Linked DNA regions of Homo sapiens: all the other regions are linked to region 1. The links are contacts of gene promoters, found by promoter capture Hi-C in blood cells and fetal thymus (Javierre and others, 2016). All regions are on one chromosome and are shown on one strand. The core of a region is centred on a gene start or on the middle of the fragment in contact, and the rest is flanking DNA. Distances in the headings are between cores, read along the strand shown. Region 1 holds the start of EPM2AIP1 (EPM2A interacting protein 1). Region 2 holds the start of DCP1A (decapping mRNA 1A). Region 3 overlaps RPL15 (ribosomal protein L15). Region 4 overlaps NR1D2 (nuclear receptor subfamily 1 group D member 2).

The links. Contacts are between HindIII fragments. The CHiCAGO score rates a contact against its expected background, and 5 or more counts as called.
Region 2: a fragment that was not itself captured here is called in contact with the fragment with the promoter of EPM2AIP1 in region 1 in 1 of 17 cell types (naive CD4 T cells); the score reaches 7.6 in naive CD4 T cells.
Region 3: a contact is called between a fragment that was not itself captured here and the fragment with the promoter of EPM2AIP1 in region 1, in 2 of 17 cell types (naive CD8 T cells and non-activated CD4 T cells). The highest score is 12.6, in naive CD8 T cells.
Region 4: a contact is called between a fragment that was not itself captured here and the fragment with the promoter of EPM2AIP1 in region 1, in 4 of 17 cell types (naive CD8 T cells, total CD8 T cells, total CD4 T cells and 1 more). The highest score is 9.1, in naive CD8 T cells.

The regions. Positions count from the first base shown.
Region 1 is chr3:36,990,000-36,995,713 of GRCh38, reverse strand. EPM2AIP1 (EPM2A interacting protein 1) reads left to right here and starts at 2,583. Exons shown (of 1, transcript NM_014805.4): 1 at 2,583-5,714. The coding sequence starts at 2,637. The coding sequence ends at 4,460. MLH1 (mutL homolog 1) reads right to left here and starts at 2,196. Exons shown (of 19, transcript NM_000249.4): 1 at 2,051-2,196. The coding sequence starts at 2,166. RefSeq lists enhancers at 1,495-2,006, 1,923-2,142, 2,513-2,862, 2,983-3,302, 3,333-3,412 and a silencer at 4,419-4,468. The HindIII fragment of the contact is 4,668 bases long and covers 1,712-5,714 here.
Region 2 is chr3:53,343,543-53,349,256 of GRCh38, reverse strand. DCP1A (decapping mRNA 1A) reads left to right here and starts at 1,714. Exons shown (of 10, transcript NM_018403.7): 1 at 1,714-1,874; 2 at 4,315-4,355. The coding sequence starts at 1,740. RefSeq lists enhancers at 1,220-1,989, 1,525-2,115, 2,116-2,706. The HindIII fragment of the contact is 990 bases long and covers 2,663-3,652 here.
Region 3 is chr3:23,918,808-23,924,521 of GRCh38, reverse strand. RPL15 (ribosomal protein L15) reads right to left here. Exons shown (of 4, transcript NM_002948.5): 4 at 3,533-5,326. The coding sequence ends at 5,021. It also overlaps a transcript of NKIRAS1 not described here. Among named protein-coding and RNA genes, the nearest start is that of RPL15, 4.5 kb to the right of the region's middle. The HindIII fragment of the contact is 2,659 bases long and covers 3,075-5,714 here.
Region 4 is chr3:23,947,104-23,952,817 of GRCh38, reverse strand. All of the region lies in intron 1 of NR1D2 (nuclear receptor subfamily 1 group D member 2), which reads right to left. Among named protein-coding and RNA genes, the nearest start is that of NR1D2, 4.7 kb to the right of the region's middle. RefSeq lists a silencer at 3,786-4,080. The HindIII fragment of the contact is 1,040 bases long and covers 2,044-3,083 here.

The DNA of each region.
Region 1 (5,714 bases), core at 1,334-3,833:
ATCTATTCCCCACACAGACAATTCTTTATTCAGAAATAAGATAATAGGCTGGGCACGGGGGCTCACACCTGTAATCCCAACACTTGGGGAGGCTGAGGTGGGCGGATCACCTGAGGTCAGGAGTTCAAGACCAGCCCGGCCAACATGGAGAAACCCCGTCTCTACTAAAAATAAAAAAATTAGCCGGGTGTGGTCATGCACGCCTGTACTCCCAGCTACTCGGGAGGCTGAGGCAGGAAGATCGCTTGAAACCAGGAGGCAGAGGTTGCCCTGAGCCAAGATCACGCCACTGCACTTCCGCCTGGGCAACAGAGTAAGACTTCATCTTAAAAAAAAAAGAAAGAAGACAATAAGTTACTTAAATATTACAGACATTTCTCATGAGCCCCTGTATTGAAGTTGTATTAGTCATCTCAACTTATATATTAAAAAGAGTATAACTGGACTCCATATAAAAATCTCCACTTGAGCCGGGCGCGGTGGCTCATGCTTGTAATCCCAGCACTTTGGGAGGCCAAAGCGGGCAGATCACCTGAGGTCAGGAAATCGAGACCATCCTGGCTAACATGGTGAAACCCTGTCTCTATTAAAAATACAAAAAACTGCAGGGCGCGGTGGCTCACGCCTGTAATCCCAGCACTTTGGAAGGCTGAGGCAGGCGGTTCACCTGAGATCGAGAGTTTTGACACCAGCCTGACCAACATGGAGAAATCCCATCTCTACTAAAAATACAAAATTAGCCAGGTGTGGTGGCACATGCCTATAGTCCTAGCTACTCGGGAGGCTGAGGCAGGAGAATCTCCCTTGAACCTGTGAGGAGGAGGTTGCAGTCAGCTGAGATCGCGCCACTGCACTCCAGCCTGGGTGACAAAGTGAGACTCCGTCTAAAAAAAAAATAAAAAAAAAATAAAAATCTCCACTTAAGTAATTAATTACAAGCCACCAAGCTAGTATGTTTAGTTTTGTTTTACAGTATTCTGGCACAGTACAATAATAGGCCCAGTTGTCCTGTCAATTCATTCTAACACAGTAGAAACAAAAGCCAGTCTGCCATTGCTTCTGTTACTACTATTACAAGTGAAAAGGAAAAAACATCCCCAGGTTCTTGCTCCTTCTTTCATCTACCTTCCAATTCTCTTCCTTTCCTTCAGTGGTCCTTTCTACCCACTGTTCTCTCAGTCCCATTGCCCTGAATAGTTTATACTTTCACAATAAATCCCTCTAGAAACCTACCACTCCAAACTGAAGCATTCTTTTTTCTATTAACGTACGGACGTCACTAACAACTGATTTTAACAAAATAATCTGACATAACGTTTAGGTGTATTTTGGGCTTGTCTTTTTGGAAGTTTATAGTCTGCACTCACTTTTCCTTCCACATGTTTCAAATCTCTTCCCTTCACATTTTTTGTCACAGTTATAAGCTTCAAAATCCAAGGATGACCCATAAAATCTGGTATCTTCGAAGTGCGTCCTCCGAAATAAAGGACAGGAAAACACTAAGAGGGGTCACTAATTTAACAATAGGGTAATCAGAAGTCAAGCCCAAAGTGCATCAGCCTGTCCTAAAACTACAAACGATTTGTTTTGAAAGAAACTCAAAATGAATTGTGCCTTTGGATGTGAACAGATGATTTCTGGAATGAATGAAAAGCAAGAAAACAGTAACACAGTACCCTCTGAAAAAAGGTTTTTCTCCCCATCTTAAGCTTTTATACATCTTTTAACTTCGCATGTTCTGCATACATAATTTTAAATTAAGTGGCTTCCTTACTTAGTTAACGGTACCATTAAGACAACACTACGTATATTCCTCCACTTACACTCCAAACAACCCTTAAAAGGTCTCGGGGGAGAGCGGTAAAGAAACACACGGTCTGCGGAAAAGGAGAAGGCCTGACTGGCACGTCAGGGAACCCGGCGGCCTCCGCCGTTGTGGGCATGCGCTGTACATGCCTCTGCCCGGGCAAAGAGGCGTGTCCGCGCCATTGAGTGACGCGGCCCGTTAAGTCGTAGCCCTTAAGTGAGCCCGGCTCGACTCCCTCCGTACCAGTTCTCAATCATCTCTTTGATAGCATTAGCTGGCCGCTGGATAACTTCCCCCGCCGCGATGCGGTTCACCACTGTCTCGTCCAGCCGCCGAATAACCCCTGCCACGAACGACATTTTGGCGCCAGAAGAGCCAAGGAAACGTCTAGATGCTCAACGGAAGTGCCTTCAGCCAATCACCTCAGTGCCTCGTGCTCACGTTCTTCCTTCAGCTGTAGCTTACGCCATCCAGCCCCACCCTTCAGCGGCAGCTATTGATTGGACAGCTTGAATGCCAGTCAAATTTCTCAACTCTGTGGGTTGCTGGGTCTCTTCGTCCCTCCCTGAAGCGGCTACTGCCCGCTACCTAGAAGGATATGCGCTTGCGCGTTAGAGATCGCTGTCCGCTCTTCCTATTGGTTCGTTTTTAGGAGCTCGGGGAATACGAAATATCCAGCCAATAGGAGCAGAGATGCCGGAACCGGGCTTGTGTGCCTCTGCTGAGGTGATCTGGCGCAGAGCGGAGGAGGTGCTTGGCGCTTCTCAGGCTCCTCCTCTCCCCTTGCGGCCTTTCTAACGTTGGCCCTGCTCTTGTGGCCTCCCGCAGAATGTGGATGACGCCCAAAAGAAGCAAGATGGAAGTCGACGAGGCTCTAGTTTTCCGGCCCGAGTGGACCCAGCGTTATTTGGTGGTGGAGCCTCCGGAGGGCGATGGGGCCCTGTGCCTGGTCTGTCGCCGCCTCATCGTAGCTACCCGCGAACGCGACGTCAGGCGCCACTACGAGGCTGAGCACGAATACTACGAGCGGTATGTGGCGGACGGCGAGCGCGCGGCCCTGGTGGAGCGTCTGCGTCAGGGCGACTTGCCCGTGGCCTCCTTCACTCCTGAAGAGAGAGCTGCTCGTGCAGGCCTCGGGCTCTGCCGCCTCTTGGCCTTGAAGGGTCGCGGCTGGGGTGAGGGGGACTTTGTATACCAGTGCATGGAGGTGTTGCTGAGAGAGGTACTGCCCGAGCATGTAAGCGTCCTGCAAGGCGTTGACTTATCTCCAGATATCACAAGGCAGAGGATCCTGAGCATTGACAGGAATCTACGCAACCAGCTTTTTAACCGAGCCAGGGACTTTAAAGCCTATTCTCTTGCCTTGGACGACCAGGCTTTTGTGGCCTATGAGAACTACCTCCTGGTCTTTATCCGCGGTGTAGGCCCTGAGTTGGAGGTGCAAGAAGATCTTCTGACCATAATCAACCTGACTCATCATTTCAGTGTTGGTGCGCTCATGTCGGCAATCCTAGAGTCCCTGCAGACAGCAGGGCTTAGCTTGCAGAGAATGGTTGGACTGACCACGACCCATACTTTGAGGATGATTGGTGAGAACTCAGGACTCGTCTCATACATGAGAGAAAAGGCCGTAAGCCCCAACTGTTGGAATGTCATTCATTATTCAGGATTTCTTCACTTGGAACTGTTGAGCTCCTATGATGTAGATGTTAATCAGATCATAAATACCATATCCGAATGGATAGTTTTGATTAAGACCAGAGGCGTTAGGCGACCTGAATTTCAGACTTTACTAACGGAATCTGAATCAGAGCATGGTGAAAGGGTTAATGGACGATGTCTGAACAATTGGCTTAGGAGAGGGAAAACTTTAAAACTAATATTCTCTCTAAGAAAAGAAATGGAAGCGTTCTTGGTTTCAGTAGGGGCAACAACAGTCCACTTCTCAGACAAACAATGGCTTTGTGACTTTGGCTTCTTGGTGGACATTATGGAACACCTTCGAGAACTCAGTGAAGAATTACGAGTTAGTAAAGTCTTTGCTGCTGCTGCCTTTGACCATATTTGTACTTTCGAAGTTAAGCTGAATTTATTTCAAAGACATATTGAGGAAAAAAATCTAACAGACTTTCCTGCCCTCAGAGAAGTTGTTGATGAGCTAAAACAGCAAAATAAGGAAGATGAAAAAATATTTGATCCTGATAGGTATCAAATGGTGATCTGTCGTCTCCAAAAAGAATTTGAGAGACATTTTAAGGACCTCAGGTTCATTAAAAAGGACTTAGAACTTTTTTCAAATCCATTTAACTTTAAACCTGAATATGCACCTATTTCAGTGAGGGTGGAGCTAACAAAACTTCAGGCAAACACTAATCTTTGGAATGAATACAGAATCAAAGACTTGGGGCAGTTTTATGCTGGATTGTCTGCTGAATCCTACCCAATTATCAAAGGGGTTGCCTGTAAGGTGGCATCCTTGTTTGATAGTAACCAAATCTGTGAAAAGGCTTTTTCATATTTGACTCGAAACCAACACACTTTGAGTCAGCCATTAACAGATGAGCATCTCCAAGCCCTGTTTCGGGTTGCCACAACTGAAATGGAGCCCGGTTGGGATGACCTTGTGAGAGAAAGAAATGAATCTAATCCATAAGGCTTTGTAGTACAAGATTGAAAAACTCAACAAGAATTTAATTCTAAAAGCAAAAATTGGTTTGAGTTTTCAAGTTTACTAATTTGGATTGTGAGAAAGTACCAAGTACCAGCCGTCCAAACTGATCACAATTAAAATTCTGACAGTTGCCTTTTTTTTCATCTCAAATGGCAGCATGGGACTGAAACATGAGAATGCCACCTTTTTTAAAACTTAGTTTAGTGACAAAGTCATTGTCTTTTATGATATAGTTAATTTTAAAGAGATTTAGTATTAATGTGAGTTGAATTTGCAGTCTGTTTTTTAGGTGTTCTGAAGATAAATGCCAAAAATTTCAGCTCTTATTTTAATGGAGTGTTAAAATTCTGATTCATATAGTCTTAAATTATCAACTCCTTAAATGTGCTTTTGAACCAATTTGCAGAAGCTCACATAGCAAGTTCATAAGTTTCCAAAAAGGAAGCCCATACATAACAGTGGAGGTGTTTTGTCTAACCATCAAAATGTTTGAGACTTTTTTTTAAACATTTCTGAGTTCGAAGGTAATACTGACAGATTTCTTCCCTCTTCCCTCCCCATCACCCACCTCAGTGATAACACATTACTGATAGAGGAAGTCATTAGAATCATTTTTAAGTTTCAGATATAGGAGACTTCATGCAATTTGGAGATAAGACTAATTATTGGGGGTTTTCCTTGGATTTTTTTTTTAATAACTGGGGGCTATTTTATCAGCTTGCCTATTAAAGGACTATGGTAAGTATAGAATCTTAATGGTTGCCAGTTAGTAATTCTTTTTTTTTTTTTTTTTACTGTAGACACAAGTTTGGCCCTATCAAAAACGATGAGGAAAAAAGATTGCACTCCAGGATTAGGAGGTGTGAGATATTTTAGCTTTTTTGTCTTATCTGCGTGGGTATTGCTGCTTTATTTTAAAAAATCCTGCCTAAAGTAAACACTTTGTTTTAAAATGATACAGTATCAGATTTTGTTAGATGCTAGAAATGGATTTATTCTAAAATTTGGAACTGTCGTACACATTCTATATGTAAGATAGCACACAAGTAGAAATATTTAAAAGCAGTCTTATTCACAGATTGCAGTAATTCTGTATTTCTACTAAGATAATCTGCTTTGTGCCAAAACAGTAATTTCCAAACTTCTGTTCACCATGAAAAGGCAATCTTAAAGTTCATTATGTAAAACTAATTATAAACAGGACCCAATTTATATTCATAGATCCTCTCAAGTATT
Region 2 (5,714 bases), core at 1,908-4,407, about 16 Mb before region 1:
TCCCAAAGTGCTGGGATTACAGGCATGAGCCACCACGCCCAGCCTCCATGACCTTTTTAACGAAAGAAATGTTGCTTTTTAAGAAGTCTGGCGGGGATAGAACTCCCTATAGTCTCCATGATTTGTTTTACTTGTTAGCTAGTGCCTAACTCTTTCAAACGCTTTAAAATGCTCAACAGACACTTACCAATGAAATGAGTGATCTGCTTAATGCTTTAAATGAAGCAAGACAAATTAAACCCTTCATGGACTCTTCCCAGGGCTGGACAAAAATATTTATGTGGGTCAGACGCAGTGGCTCACGCCTGTAATCCCAGCACTTTGGGAGGCCAAGGAGGGCAGATCACCTGAGGTCAGGAGTTCAAAACCAGCCTGGCCAATGTGGTGAAACCTCGTCACTACTAAAAAAAATACAAAAATTAGCTGGGCGTGGTGGCGGGCGCCCGTAATCCCGGCTACTCTGGAGGCTGACGCAGGAGAATCGCTTGAACCCAGGAGGCAGAAGTTGCAGTGAGCTGAGATCGCGCCACGGCACTCCAGTCTGGGCGACAGAGCGAAACTCCATTTCAAAAAAAAGAAAAAGAAAAAGAAAAAATTAGCCAGGTGTGGTGGCGGGCGCCTGTAATCCCACCTAATTGGGAGGCTGAGGCAGGAGAATCGCTTGAACCCTGGAGGCAGAGGTTGCAGTGAGCTTGAGATTGTGCCACGGCACTCCTGCCTGGGCAAAAGAGCGAGACTCCGTTTCAAAAAGAAAAAAAGAAAAGGGCCGGGCGCGGTGGCTCAAGCCTGTAATCTCAGCACTTTGGGAGGCAGAGGCGGGTGGATCGCCTGAGGTCAGGAGTTCGAGACTAGCCTGGCCAACATGGCGAAACCCCGTCTCTACTATAAACACAAAAATTATCAGGGCATGGTGGCGCGCCCATGTAATCCCAGCTACTGGGGACGCTGAGACAGGAGAATCGCTTGAACCTTGGAGGCGGAGGTTGCAGTGAGTCGAGATCGCGCCACTGCACTTCAGCCTGGGCGACAAGAGTGAAACTCCGTCTCAAAAAAAAAGAAAAAAAATCCACTTGTACCTTCTGCTAATCAGTGTATATATTCAAGGCAACTTGAATCTATGCTCCTGGGGTGCAATCCTCAAGCTTGGCCCAAATAAACTCTCTGCTTGCATTTATTTTGCCCCAGAGTCTTCTTCCTTTTAGGTCGACACATCCATATCTGAGACCTAGGGTAATTTTCTGGGCTTCTCGCCTCTCCCTTTCCCCCATGTTTTTCTGTGCTCTCTAAACGGGCCCGGTAGAGTCCCGCATTTCCACATTCCACAGACATGTTTTCCTTCTGTGGCCCCGGGCCCTGCCAGACAGCGCACCGCGAGGCCGGCACTTCGGCGGTCTCCAACCTTTGCCTGGAAAGAGCTCGGCAGGCGAGCTAGAGGCCAGATCCCAGGACCCAGTCGTTTTAGCTCAGGGAAAGGAAGCGCCGGAGCTCCAGCCTGCAAGCTCCACTACGCAGCCTTGGACACCGCCCACATCGTAGGGCCGCGGACCCTGACAACGCCGGAACCCGGCGCCCGGAGCGTGCGCGCGGCGGACCAGAATGGCTGACGTACCGCCCTGCCGCGAGGCCCGCGTAGAGGCGGAAGTTGAGGGGACTGACGCAGATGGGGGAATTTTGCCTCGATGGCACTTTCCTGTCCGCGACTCCGCCCCCACCAGAGGGGCTAGGCTCTGGGATTCAAGATGGAGGCGCTGAGTCGAGCTGGGCAGGAGATGAGCCTAGCGGCCCTGAAGCAACACGACCCCTATATCACCAGCATCGCAGACCTCACGGGCCAGGTCGCTCTGTACACCTTCTGCCCCAAGGCCAACCAGTGGGTGAGTGCCGCCTGGCCCTGAGGACGGCCACCCGGCCGCTGCCGTCTCTTAAAGGGGCCGCGCGGGTTACTGTGGGGTGGGGGGGCACACTAAGAGGCCAGGGCGGTGGAGACGAGGCCAGGGTCTGGCCAAGAGCCTAGCCAGAGCCTGAGGGGTGTCGGGTCCGCTTGGGATTGGGGGATAGGAGTGAGAGAAGTGGCTCGAGACATCCCAAGGAAAAGCCAGTGGAGGGGAGGATTGGAGCAGGATCAGTCCCTTGGCGTCGGGTCTGGGGACGTGGGCGACCTGCCTTCTTTGCAGATACATTGGGAGTTATAAGACCGGTGGGGTCAAAAGGGTGCCTGAAAGCTTGTGTTTGAGGCTTTGCGGATTATTAGATAAATTATATGTACATTATCTATAAAATAAACACTCCTCCTCTCCCCCTGGCAAACGTAAATGAGAGCCCCTGTCGCAGAGGTCATTTGGGTTTAAAGTTTAAAATCCAATTAGTTTCGATTCTTGGAAGGAGGGGGTGGGTGGGTCCGGCTTTAATCGAACTACACAGAGTTTCGGAAAAGATTCCAAGGCACTTAGGAAAAGGGCTTCCGTGTTCACTGGATCCCCGAAGACCTTTGTACAAACAAGAGAGACCCTGTAAATGTGTTTTGTTCCATCTATGATGCTGGTGATGTCATCTCTGAATGCTCCCCTCGGACTCAGTACTTTCTGGCTTTCGTGCACTGGGGAGGGTCCGAAAAGTCACATTCAGTGTGTTCACTGATTCTTGTTAGCCCCTGCTTGAAGCTTTGTTAGTTGTTTAAAAAGCATAATTTCCCACTTTCTTGTAATTGACCCTTCCTAATTAACTCATTCAGCTACAGGCTTTACACTTAGAAAGTAATACGTAAATGCTTGTTGGATTGAATTCACCAATGACTGGAGTTCACATTTCAATAAGATACGAAATCCTTAAACTGACAGAACTCTGGAAGATGACCGTAGTATGTCGTTTACCCTATAATACAGTTGCATAGATTATATTTATCAGTAATTTATCGAAAATCATTTGGCATTTATGAACAGTTAATTCAGATGAAGAGTTTTTATAATCACGTTGTTTATCTTTGCCTCCTGGAAGAGAAGGAGATATGGGAAGCCACAAGGAATAAAATTGTAGATTGTTTTTTAAATGTAGCTATTTTAGACATTGCCTTAGTTTGAAATTTTATGAATCTTTTTTCTTTTCTTGGCCTATATATAAATTTTGAAATATGGATTGCCGACAAATGGTGAAGACTTGGGGCTAGAGTTTTCCTAGTTTTTCACAAAGGCTTTCAATATTTTAAAATTTTACATTGTGGAGTTCTGTTTTAAATATGAAATACAAGCTATAATAACCTGAATTGAAAAATAAGCTGCTACTGTTTATTTGGATCCTGGCACATAGAGCATGACAAAAATCTTTTCCCTCTTTATTATTTTACAGTGAGTTGTAACTTTGCATGATGTTTTTTGGTGGGCAAATTTTCTTTTACTGTAAGACAGTTGATTACCAGTTTCTTATAGTAATAACCTAACATTTTAAAGGTAAGAAAAAGCCTCTGAATCCTTAGGAAGGAAAATAATGATATTTAAGCTAGGGTAGTACTTCTGGAAGAAATCGAGATGATCAATTTTCTAAATTTTTTAATCCCAACACATTCAATATATGACTAACATTTAAAATGTTAATAATGCGTTGATTACAGTAAAATATTTAGGTCCATTGTAGGCTGTAAATTGCAGACTAATAAGCTTATTTATTTTTTAAAAAACACTGAACTGTGTTTAAAACCTAAATACACTCTTGTCACAGAAAATGAACTATGGTAAAGGCCTCCAATAATTACACTGAGGCAGGGTATACTTTCAGTATTCAAGATTCTTCAAGTTCTAAAAATAACAAGCTGATTTTGTTTGGTAGTAATTCTTAACCACAAAATTTGCTAGTTGTCAAAATGTACGAAAACTCCCTAGTGATGAAACAAAGTATCCTATAAGAAAGTTTCATTCCTTTCCTTTTTTAAAATTAACTTGGATAAACTTAAAAGAGAAGAAATTGCAGTATACAGGACCTTAGCTTTAAAGTTAAGAAATCTGGCTAAAATATTTTAGCTATAAAAAGTGAAGGTTTATTCTATGATTTTCTCCTTTACTAATTAAAAAAGAAAAATACTGCAGATACAGATATGTTGCTGGATTAAATATTGCATATGCTTATGCACTGAAAGGATACATTAGAAATGGTAACCACAATTTGTGGAATGAGAGGGAGACTTTACCTGTTCAAAAGTGGTTAATTTTATAATAGATGAAATGAAACAAGTTGATCTTAAACGTGAAGCATTACTTCTCCATGGGGACTATTTGGGGTCTGATTATGGGGAAAAAAAACTAATTGAGTCATTGTCTTTCATAGGAGAAGACTGATATAGAAGGGACCTTATTCGTATATCGAAGGTAAGTTTTTAAAATATGTATATTTGTTTTTAACAGTCTAGTGGTGAACAATGTGAAACGGTTCAATTCTCTTGTACATTTGTCTTTGGAACCGTCCTGCTAGTACCCTTCAAGTTTTCATCTTTCCCTAGCTGTGAAATCTTAACCAGGTTCTTTCTTTTCTCTGAGCCTTTCTGTGATTCAGAATAAACTGAACTAGAATTTATATTACCAGCCTAGCAAAGCAATTTCAAAATAATAATGATTGAGTCTAAAATGGATGCCTGCGTCTCTCTTCCTACCCCCATATTAGAAAGAAAAAGAAAGATATATATTTGGGGAAAAGACAATACATAGACTGGCTCTGTAAAATAATGTTATTGAGAGGTCGATCCCTCTGTTCTTTCATTACTACATGAGTGGTTGTCTTTTATGACTGGTTCTGTCCTCTTTCCCAACCCACAGAAGTTCTGGATTATGTACAGTGTCTTATTTGAGAGTTCTTTAGAAAGCTTGGATTATTCATGATGGCGTATTTTTTATTTTTGACTTATTCAAAAATTCATTATCTTTAAGATTGGTTTGCAAATTGCAACTTTTTTGTTAGGCAGCTTTTGGGGCCTAAAGACAACTGACAGTATATGATAGTCATGGGGTACTTGTTTTCCTGGATTCCTCTAAGGTCTTAACTCTTACAAGGGCAGGTTCCTTCCCTTGTTTTCTAAAGCTTAGGGAGTCAGCAGGAGTTATTACTGATATCTGGTCTTTTCCCTTTTTTTTTTGTATTGAGTTGCTTCATAAGGATTGCCTTTCTCCATTGATGCCAATTTAAAAGAATTTGTCAAATACTCTTCTAAATTTTGATACAAAGCTTTGAGATCTCGTCTAAATGCACTCATTTTTTTCTTCTTTTAAGTGTAATTCTTTGATATTTGTACACCAAGCTCTTTTTTCTTAGACACTTTCTTTGTTCCCTGCTATTCATCTTTCTGCTTTTAAAAAGGAAGGGATCGGCCGGGTGCAGTGGCTCACGCCTGTAATCCCAGCACTTTGGGAGGCCGAGGTGGGCGGATCACGAGGTCAGGAGATCAAGACCATCCTGGCTAACACGGTGAAACCCTGTCTCTACTAAAAATACAAAAAATTAGCTGGGCATGGTGGCAGGCACCTGTAGTCCCAGCTACTTGAGAGGCTGAGGCAGGAGAATATCGTGAACCCAGGAGGCGGAGCTTGCAGTGAGCCGAGGTCGTGCCACTGCACTCCAGCCTGGGTGACAGAGCGAGACTCCCTCTCATAAAAAATAAATAAATTAATAGGAAAGGATCTTTACCCTCACTCCCTTCATTACTCTTCATTAGCAATATAAATCTCTAGAAACTC
Region 3 (5,714 bases), core at 3,155-5,654, about 13 Mb after region 1:
GAGGCATGAAAATCACTTGAACCCAGAAGGTGGAGGTTGCAGTGAGCTGAGATCGTGCTACTGTACTCCAGCCTGGGTGACAGAGACTCGTCTCAAAAAATAAGAATCTCATGAGCAGAAAAATTATGAAGCATAGGAGAAATGAGCTAGCAGCTCCTTCCAATTTATTAATATAGCATGGTACATAAGGGAGGGGGGATTCTCTGATAGAAAAGTGGAAAGCCACTGTAAAGCAAACATAAAAAACGCTTTTAAATGTACAAATAATGCTCAACTTTATTTATTGAATTAGTTAGGGCTAAGCTAGGCTATGCTGCCATAATAACAAAACACAACTAATGCAGTCGTTTGACACAATAAAATCTTACCACTCATGCTGTCTGATGCGGTTGAGCAGCTTTCACCCATCTTGTATTAATAGCTATGCTATCTGGATCACTGGCTTCCACAGTTGTGGGAAGTGTGGAGGAGGCATACCAACTGTTGTTTTTCTTGGAGGGAAGTAATATGACCCCAACCTAAATGCATGAGAGGCCAGGAAAACAATGTAGTTTAGTTGTGTTTTCAGGGGGAGAAAAAGCTATGGTATGCACATAGCTTTGCCTCTGCCACACTCAGAATGCAAAATAAAAGTAGAGAAGAGTATCATTTCCCCCTAACAGACTGGCAGATATCCCAAAATTTGATTACATACATTAAAGAGGGTGTGGATAAACAAGTCCTCTCCTACTTTGCTGGTGGTAGTGAAAATTGGTTCAACTTTTATGGAAGACAATTTGGCAATATCTATAAAAAATTATATACATACAATTTTTAACTCTGCCATTCTACTTCTAAGAATTTATTCTACAGATGAATAAAGATGTATGCACACATTTTTCTTTTTGTAATAGCAACAGATTGGAAGAAATTTAAATGTCCATCAGGAGGGTCCACATCCAATGAATCATGGTACATCCACATGATGGGATACCATGCAGTTATACCAAAAGAATGAAGTTCCAGCCGGGCACGGTTGCTCATGCCTGTAATCCCACTACTTTGGGAGGCTGAGATGGGCGGATCACCTGAGGTCAGGAGTTCGAGACCAGCTTGGCCAAAATGGTGAAACCCCGTCTCTACTGAAAATACAAAAATAGCTGGATGTAGTGGCAGGCACCTGTAATCCTAGCTACTCGGAGGCTGAGGCAGGAGAATCGCTTGAACCTGGGAGGCAGAAGTTGCTGCGAGCCAAGATTGTGTTACTGTACTCCAACCTGGGCTATAAGAGCAAAACTACATCTCAAAAAAAAAAAAAAAAATGAAGTTCCTCATGAGCTGATAAAGAATAAGCTCTGAGATACATAACTAAACAAAAAAATCAACAATGTGTATCATATCCTACCACTTGGGGAAGAAAAGGAAAAAATACATATGTAGGCCAGGCACCGTGGCCCACATCTGTAATCCCAGCACTTTGGGAAGCAGAGACAGGAAGATTGCTTGAGCCCAGGACTTTGAGACCAGCCTGAACAACATGGTGAAACCCTGTCTCTACAAAAAATACAAAAATTAGCCTGGCATGGTGGTGTGCACCTGTGGTTCCAGCTACTCGACAGGCTGAGGTGGGAGGATTGCTTGAGCCAGGAGGTTGAGGCTACAGTAAGTTGTGAACGCGCCACTACACTCCAGCCTGGGCAACAGTGAGACCCTGTCTCAAAATAAAAAAATATTGTTAAACTGATCACCTTGCCTCCAGGGAGAGGAACTAGGAGGCAGAAGGGTTTGTACTGTAGAGCCTATACTTATCTTTTGAATTTTTAACGTTAATGTATTATCTATCAAAAACTTTAAGTTGGCCACGTGCAGTGGCTGACACCTGTAATCCCGGCACTTTGGGAGGCCAAGGCGGGAGGATCACCTGAGGTCAGGAGCTCGAGACCATCCTGGCCAACATGGTGAAACCGTCTCTACTAAAAATACAAAAATTAGCTGGGTGTGGTGGTGCGTGCCTGTAGTCCCAGCTACTCGGGAGGCTGAGGCAGGAGAATCGCTTGAACCCGGGTTGCAGTGAGCTGAGATCGTGCCACTGCACTCCAGCCTTGCGACACAGTGAGACTCCATCTCAAAAAAAACCAAAACAAAACAAATAAACTTTAAGTGTATAGGATTTGAATTCAGACTGTCACTGTATGACTTTGAGCAAGTTGCTTCATCTTTGTGTTTCCTCATTGGCAAAAAAGGATTAATACTAGTAACTGCACCTTTTGGGATTGTAAGAAACCAATTGTTATTTTTGAGACAAGTTCTGGCTCTATCACCCAAGATGGGAGTGCAGTGGTGTGATTTCGGAGACTACAGGCGTGCAACACCATGCCCAGCTGATTTGTTATTTTTTGTGAGATGGGCTCTCACCACGTTGCTCAGGCTGCTCTCTAACTCATGAGCTCAAGCCCACCTTGGTTACCGAAAGTGTTGGGATTGCAGGCGTGAGCCACCGCACCCAGCCAATTGTTGTTATTACTAAAGTAAATTTGGGCCCGGTGTGGTGGCTCATTCCTATAATTCCAGCACTTTGGGAGGCCAAGGCAGGATTGCTTGAGGCCAGTAGTTTGAGACCAACCTGGGCAACATAGTGAGATCCTGTCTGTACAAAAAATAAAAATTGGGCTGGGGGTGGTGGCTCACGCCTGTAATCCCAGCACTTTGGGAGGCCAAGGCAGGTGGATCACTTGAGGTCAGGAGTTCGAGACCAGCCTGGCCAACATAGTGAAACCCAGTCTCTACTAAAAATACAAAACTTAGCTGGGCATGGCAGTGTGCGCCTGTAGTCCTGGCTATTTGGGAGGCCGAGGCAGAAGAATTGCTCAAACCCGGGAGACAGAGGTTGCAGTGAGCCGTGATTGCCCCACTGCACTCCCACCTGAGTGAGAGTGAGACTCCATCTGGAAAAAAAAAAAAAAAAAAAAAAACTCAATAATCAATGTTGCTGTGTGAATTACATGCCAATATAGAAATAGTAAAGCAAATGGGAACAGCTTGTGGGGCGGTCAGGGTATAGCTAATAAAGTGACCCTTAATATTGGAGTAAAGCTTTCCCATCATAAAGGCATTAGGAAGTGTTTGGTGTATTTGAAGAACAAACAGCAAGGAGCCTGGGGTGTGGACTGCAGTAGGACATGAGGTCACACATAAAGTGGGAAGATCATGAAAGCTATCATGAGGACTTTTGATTTTTTTGCACGGGAGTGCCATGATCAATTTAATAGGATCCCTTGGACTACTGTGTGGAGATAAAACTGTTGGGTAGCAAGGACAGGAACAAGGTTTTCTTGTAGAGACAATGCTGACCTTTGGCCCGAACCCTTTCTCTCCTTCCCAAATTAGTCATGTTTAAGGATTTTTTTTGTTTTTAGGTCTCACTATGCTGCCCAGGCTGGCCTCAACAAATCCTCCAGCTTGTCTCCCAAAGTGCCAGGATTACAGGCCTGAGCCACCACACCCAGCTGAACAGTTTTAGATAAAAACCTAATTCATGCAATGATCAAAGAACTGAGAGAATAAGTACATTTTATGCTATCTCAAATTATATTATTTCTATAATCACATTTTGATGCCTTTTTGCTGGTTAGGGCATTTGGTTTGCTTTAAAGTACATTAGCACTGTAAGATGACAAAAAATAACAGAAGGTCCATTTGTTTTAGTTTAATAGACATTTATTCCTTCAGTTGAACAACCTCTACACAATTAAAATGTATGACTTAAGATCTTTTCTTTTTTTGTGAAGAAATTTAGGTCTCAAGAACTTTTATGAACTTGCTATGAGTACTTCCTGGAAATCAATTAACTGAGTCTTTTGAAACCCCTAGAGAAGATAGGAGAAAATTGGTTCAGAACGAGCATTTAAATTAAGTCAGCAAAGTCAGAATTTAAAATTGGGCAATTCCTTGTCTACATTTTCTTTACACTCAAATTGACCCTGGACAACAGTAGTCTAGTCTCCTGGAAGACATGGTGCAAACAGAAATGCAATGTGGTGGTATACTCATAGTCAAAGTGGGTGCACAAGTGATGGTCCAACTTTGTGGAATGGTAAGGATTTTTAGGGTTGTTTGGCCAGAACAAGAGAAATAACTGCAGAAAACACATATGGTTGGAAACCATGCGCTTGTGACTTTTTCTGTAGCCTATGGGAGTGGACAGAGTGGGTAACCCAAGATGTTTTTAAGACTGACTGGACTAAGAATGACGTACTTATAGCCAACTACTTTCCCCCTAATGTGACTGAAGGGATTCATAATGATCACAATTAGCATTACGGTTAAGTATTTTAGGGTTGACGTCTAAGCTCACACTTGAAAGGTATTTATCTAATGGCCACTGGCTCACCAGCTTCCCACCCTAGCATTCATTGCTAGCTTACCAATCTTAAGGCTAATAATTTTATCGCACATTCAACTTCAAAACACACCAGTGTTTACCATTACCACTAATCACTGAATGCCATGAAGCCATGGCACTGAACCAGGAGCTTTCACCTTTTATGTGAATTTAAAATGGTACTGTGGAGGCTGAGGCAATTTTCTTCAGGCTAACCCAGATTTTCTAAAGCCCAACTTAAAAAGTCTACACCTGCCAAACTAAAAAAAACGCAGCCACTTGAAAATAAACCAGCAGAGCATTGCCATCACTCCGATAAAGCTGCAGGTTTCATCACATGCACCAGACAAATCTACAGGGCTAGTTTCAGTTCTCTCCTTTTAAAGAATTTATTAAGCCTGTTATACCACACAGTATGTTTTATACACTGACATACAACTCCCTAATAAGATAAAGCAAAGACAAAAAAGTTTATCTTATTAGAAACAAGATACACCACCACTTATTGTCTTCAAACATTATTGCACTTTAACTTTCTTAATTTGACAAAGCATTCAAGAAACATCTGCAGACTAGTTTTAACAGACAAATAACACCTGTAAGCAGACATGACTGTCCTAAATTGTTTATTAAGTATGAATTTTACAAACTTTACTTATATTAGCGGTAACGGTGGAGCTGGAGAGTATTGCGCCTTCTCCAAGCTGCCCGGCGAGAGCCACCAATAGTGTGGTGGAACTTGTGGCCCTTTCCAAGGCCACGGCTCTTTCGGCCTGCAGATGTCAGCCCACGCATCTCCCTGTGCTTGTGGACTGGTTTGGTGATCCACTGGGTGTCAGGATTTCTTCTGATAGCTTTATGGAATGGATCAATGAGGATAACCTCAAAAAATTTGTATGTGGAATCTTCACCAACCCAGTAAGAATTCAGGACTCTCAGAGCCCCACAGTGGCGTCCAGCTCGCTCCTAGAATAGGAAAAAAGGCCCAAGGTCAATCTCCCACATTGCCTATAGCAGCAAGTCAGAAAGAATTTTAATTCTCAACTCTAGTTCACCACCAGACAAGAGTCTTTTACTACTCAAGTTATTTACTAAGCATTTCTCCCTAGACTATCACAAGTGTAATGAGATAATGTAGACTTGCTAAAACAACACACATAGACTGAAACACATCATTCCCTCTTAATACTCCATTCCTGACTAGGGCAGGAATATGTTAATATCTGGGTAACAAAATTTAGGGTTTGGGGACCTTATCTTTTTCCATACAACTGAGAGCTCAGCAACGTTTAGCTTTAAAAATATTTAGTATATATTTTAGGCTGTGCAGGCCACATTTGGTCTCTTCTGCATA
Region 4 (5,714 bases), core at 1,314-3,813, about 13 Mb after region 1:
GAGTGCAACCCAGAAGGGAAGATAAAACAGGTGCCTACTATGCCAAGAAACACACAATGTTTTTCATCAGACACGATTTTTTTTTTTTTTTTGAGATGGAGTCTCACTCTGTTGTCCAGGCTGGAGTGCAGTGGCACAACCTCAGCTCACTGCAACCTCCGCCTCCCGGGTTCATGCGATTCTCCTCCTTCAGCCTCCTGAATAGCTGGGAATACAGGCGCCCGCCACCACGCCTGGTTAATTTTTGTTTTTGGTTTTTGTTTTTTTTTTAGTAGAGACAGGGTTTCACCATGTTGCCCAGGCTGGTCACGAACTTCCGACCTCAGATGATCCGCCCGCCTCCACCTCCCAAAGTGCTGAGATTACAGGTGTGAGCCACCGTGCCCAGCCCAGACACAAATTTAACATACATAAATTCAACTATATGCACTTGATTTTTAAGACAAAAATATCACTAACGTAGACAATTCCATCCACTGTTTTATTCATGAAGCCTATGCCTGGACTCGATCATGAGGTGAGAGGTGCAAATCTGCTCTTCCCAGTTAAACCCACTGTCCATATGCTCTCTTGCTATGTGCATCTCACCTTAATTAATCCTGCAATTAATATTTTTCCTGCAACATGGTCCCTAACTACAAACCAACCATCTCAAAGTGTGGGCCCTGGACTAGGGGCATCAGTATCACCCAGAATCTGTTAGAAATGCAAATTATCAGGCTCCGCTCCAGATCTACTGGATCAGAAACTTTAATAAGCCCTCTTGGTGATTCTGATGCACATCCAAGTTTGAAGAACACTGCCACAAGCCAACTACTTCATCTGTGCTCCCTGGAAGACAAAGTGACCAAGGTAGTTTTCATCTACCATTTATTCTAAAATCTAAAAACTCCAAAACTACAAACACAAGAAGAAAGATTCCCAACTTCGAGTTTATTTTCATCACCCAGAGAAATTATGTAAAATACATATCCTCAAAACTAGCTGGTGCTTTTTCAGAATACATGTTTCCAAGGCCCTGCCCAGACGAGAACACATCCTCAGGAATGTGCAATTTTAACAAGCTCTCCAAGCAATTATTTGCACATTGAAGTTTCAAAATGGCTACAATCAGTGAATTCAAACACAAATTGGCCCATAGTTTTAAAGATTGATGATTTCATCGATACAACCGCCAGAATATCATTAATACCCTGTGAATCCAAAGAGAAACCAACTTAACCTAGAAACCTAGCCAGTGTCATGTTACTGGATAAAACCATTGTGCTGTCTTTATATAACTTTAGAGATCTTAAGTCCACATTAAAAATTCCAGGTATTAGCACACTGCTACTTTTTCACAGATGTCTCCACTCACAATAGGACACTTTACAAAGACAAATATTCTTAGTCCTCAATGAAATTCCAAAGGAAGATCTCACAGCTATTTGTCTTCTCTAAAATAGTGTCTTAAGTACTAAATTCACATCTAACATCTCAGGAAAATAAAAGATAAGAAAGTGATGTTTTTCCTTGGAAGTAAGACTTTCCTAGGGCCCCCATTTTCAGTCATTTATGTTCACAAGATCTGCTGACTACCTTAGCTAAGAAATAAACTTTTAGAAATTAGAGCTGGCCGGGCACAGTGGCTCACGCCTGTAACCTCAGCACTTTGGGAGGCCGAGGCAGGCGGATCACCTGAGGTCGGGAGTCCAAGACCAGCCTGACCAACATGGAGAAACCCCATCTCTACTAAAAATACAAAATTAGCCAGGTGTGGTGGCGCATGCCTGTAATCCCAGCTCCTCAGGAGGCTGAGACAGGAGAATCACTTGAACCCGGGAGGCGGAGGTTGCGGTGAGCCGAGATGGCACCATTGCACTCCAGCCTGGGCAACAAGAGTGAAAACTCCATCTCAAAAAAAAAAAAAAAAAAAGAAAAAGAAAGAGAAAAGAAAAGAAATTAGAGCTATGCAGATGGCTTAAAAATTGGTTGCAAGCACTGACGGGGCAATGGACTGTATCGTAATTAATTAACCAAAAAACAATTTCCTTTGCAAAAGCTTCAATATCCAACCTAAAAGAAACTACTGGGCTATTATCAATCCAGCGAAGATCCAATTCCTGTCTTAAGAAAACAAGCATCTGTGCCAGGCACCAGAAAATCAAAGAAGACCCATCTAGAAGTAGCTGCATTCTCCTAGCAAGACCTTCAATATTGATTTAGTTGTCTTGGCATCTATTCTTGCTACTAGACACCCATCTATGAACCTGACTGATAGCAACCCAAATGGGTTAAATTTTAATTTCTTAGAAGAAAAGGAGTACATCTAGTAGTTCCTCAACCTAATGAAGAAAGGAAAGTGAAACTACAAGTCACCAAGTACCTACTGGATGTCAGGAATAAAATGACACAATTTCATCCTCACAAGAAGAACTCTGTGAATTAACTTTCATCAAATCATTTTTTAAACAAGGAGCTCAGAGAGGATAAGTCAGCCACTAAGTGGCAGGCCAAAGTTTAAAGTCAAGGTTGTCCAATTCCAGAGTACAAACTTATTTGGTGAGAAGACCTGAGCAAGCAAGTCACTTTCAATCTTTCTAAACCTGAGTGGTCTTCTATAAAATTGGAATATCTGCCACTTATTACAAGACTGAAATGAAATGGCATTCATAAGTGCTTTTTTCATACACTGTTTTTGATGATAAAGTAAGAAGAGTAAAAATCCCCAAACCAGCAAGTCCCAACACCTCCAAGAAACAGGCAGTATGTACCTCTTTGAAACCCTGAGCTAAAATTAGCTGAAGCAGTCTTCTCTATTTTCAGTTGAAAGGGACCCTGGACCTGGGCCAGGTTCCCAGGCTAGGGCTTACCCAGTGGTCAACTTCAGACAAGCCTTAAGTCAATATCCAATTTTGTACTGCTAGGAAGCACTGATATTCCTGCATATATTGGGGTCTTCTTACCCATTTTCTACACTTGTCCATCATCAAAACCCTCACACTTCCTCTGTCCACCATCCTGGAGATTATGTTTGACTTCAAGTCATGACTGTACTTTTCTGCCTTGTGACTTAGAACAAAACATTTTATCACCAAGAAGCTTTAGTTTCCCTCATTTTAAAAGTGTTATAAATAATTTCTACTCCAAGGGTGGTAGAGTAGATCTAACTGAAGCACTAAAATTCCAATTGTGTCCTAGGTGTCAGGGCTCCAGAGAACAGCATGGTCCTTTCCCTAAAATGCCTTATAGGCCAACTGGGGAAACACCTATGTTATTAGGAGCAATGTTTCACACACATGATTGTGACTGCTGAGGATCATACTAAAGAGGGCAGAAATCAATAGGGGCAAACACATCCAAGGTTGCAATATCTAAGTGGGGAATTGAAGACTGTTTAAATCATCAAAAGAGACATTTTTTAAATAGGGTGACACAAAAATAAATGGTGTGTTTTTTGTTGTTTTTTTTTTTCAGACGGAGTTTCGCTCTGTCACCCAGGATGGAGTGCAATGGTGTGATCTCGACTCACTGCCACCTCCGCCTCCTCGGTTCAAGCGATTCTCCTGCCTCAGTCTCCCAAGTAGCTGGGATTACAGGCACCCGCCACCACACCCGGCTAATTTTTGTATTTTTAGTAGAGACAGGGTTTCACATGTTAGCCAGGCTGGTCTCGAACTCCTGACCTCAGGTGATCTGCCCATCTCAGCCTCCCAGATTGCTAGGATTACAGGCATGAGCCACCATGCCCAGCCAAATCGGTCTTATTTTATAAAATAGACATTATTTTTATCTCCATGTAAATTACTGGAGAAGGGAGGTCAAGGTGTAATCTAATGTCTGGAAATAAGCCAGCATGACTAAAGAGAGGACTGATGAAACTGGGAGGCCCTGCAGATGACTATCCTTTTCCACTAGCTATAACCTACATATATCACTGCAAATTGAGTGGGGATCCATACACATGCAGTATCTCCTTCACCCTCAAGAAGACAGGACCACCAAGTTGCGTATAAATCTTCAAATATTATGCAGGCTAAAGTACATTATAGCACAGTAGTTAACAGTTTGTGTTCCCAAGTAAATTTTGTGGATTCAAATTCTGGCTCTACTACTTGCCTGAGTAAGTTATTTAGCTTCAATTTACTTAGCCCCGCATCATTAAGATGGTGGCAACGGCACCTTCCTTCATGGAATTAACATGAGGAACACATGTAAAAGGCCTGGCACAGAGTAAGAAGCTGATGATTATTTTTTTGTCATCATTATACTAGAAGAGTTCCAACAGAATGGTTCAAACCAAAGTAACTAATCCTCCCTACCCATTATTCACCTCATTTTTTAATGTGTGTTAAGGATCCAGTGGTTTCTTTGTAGGTTATTTCCACACTACCTTTTGAATCTCTTAACCCTACTGACCAGTAGAGCAACTTTTCTTCAATTCTTGCTTTTCCTTGCTCCAAGGAAAGATTTCTTTGCTCCACCTCTCCAATTTTTTTCCAAGTCTTTTACTCCACTGTTTTCACTTGTTACTCATGGGGCGAGGAGACATAGAGATGTCACGAAGGACAGTAAGATTACAGGATCACTGGTTGAATGTTTGTCAACTGATAACCAAACTAGAGGGAAGGGTAGAGGTGTGCCACACAGCGCTGAATCTGGCCCCACCTTGGTCAATGTTTACAAAAATTCGAAAGTTAAAAGGCTTTTTTTTTTTTTTGAGATGGGAGTCTCGCTCTTGTCGCCCAGGCTGGAGTGCAGTAGCGCGATGTCGGCTCACTGCAATCTTCACCTCCCAGGTTCAAGCTATTCTGCTGCTCAGCCTCATAAGTAGCTGGGATTACAGGAGCCCACCACCACGCCCGGCTAATTTTTGTCCTTTTAGTAGAGACGGGGTTTCACCATGTTGGCCAGGCTGGTCTCGAACTCCTTACCTCAGGGGATCCGCCCGGCTCAGCCTCCCAAAGTGCTGGGATTACAGGCGTGAGCCACTGTGCCCGGCCAGTTTAAGGCAATTCTTATTAGACCTCCTGCTTACTGATAGATAGCAGAAACTGTAAACATGGTGGGTAACAGCTTGTAACAGCTTTGAACTTAAGGCCAAATGAACGAGAGAAATTTTAAGAATGGTCATTGTAAATTCCTACACTTCAAGTCATGCAATTATCTGCACAATGAATGAAATCTAACTTCATAATAGTTCACGTGAAAGGTCCTAGTTGACTGCAAGGTTACTGTGAGTCAGCAAAGCAACATGCCAAAAATACTAAGCCTGCCAGGGAATTCATTTGCAACAGGATTCAAGACAAAGAGGGCAACTTGGAACTTGATAATCATCCAACCACTTCCACAAGAGCCTGTTCACTTCTGGGTGCTCCATCCCAAACGGCAACAAGGATGATGAGTGATCAGAAAAAACAATGCTGGGCAAGGACAAAGAGATGAGAACTGTAAATGGAAGAACTGAAGGGGGAAGGGGATGGTCAACATTCATCCGGAGGAATTTTTATAATGTGCCTTGCTCCACGAGGCAAGATTTAGATCAGCGAAGTATTGGAAGAGGGCTCAAACCAGAGAAAAACTTCCTAATTGAGCCAGCCCTTATGAGGTTACTAAAGCTATTAGAATTCATGCTAAAGGGTGGGTTAGAAGAGGTTCACCCTGATCACCTCTGAATTCTAACATGTAGAAGTTTAATTCTATGATAAACTCATAAAATTTTAAAAATACCCTCA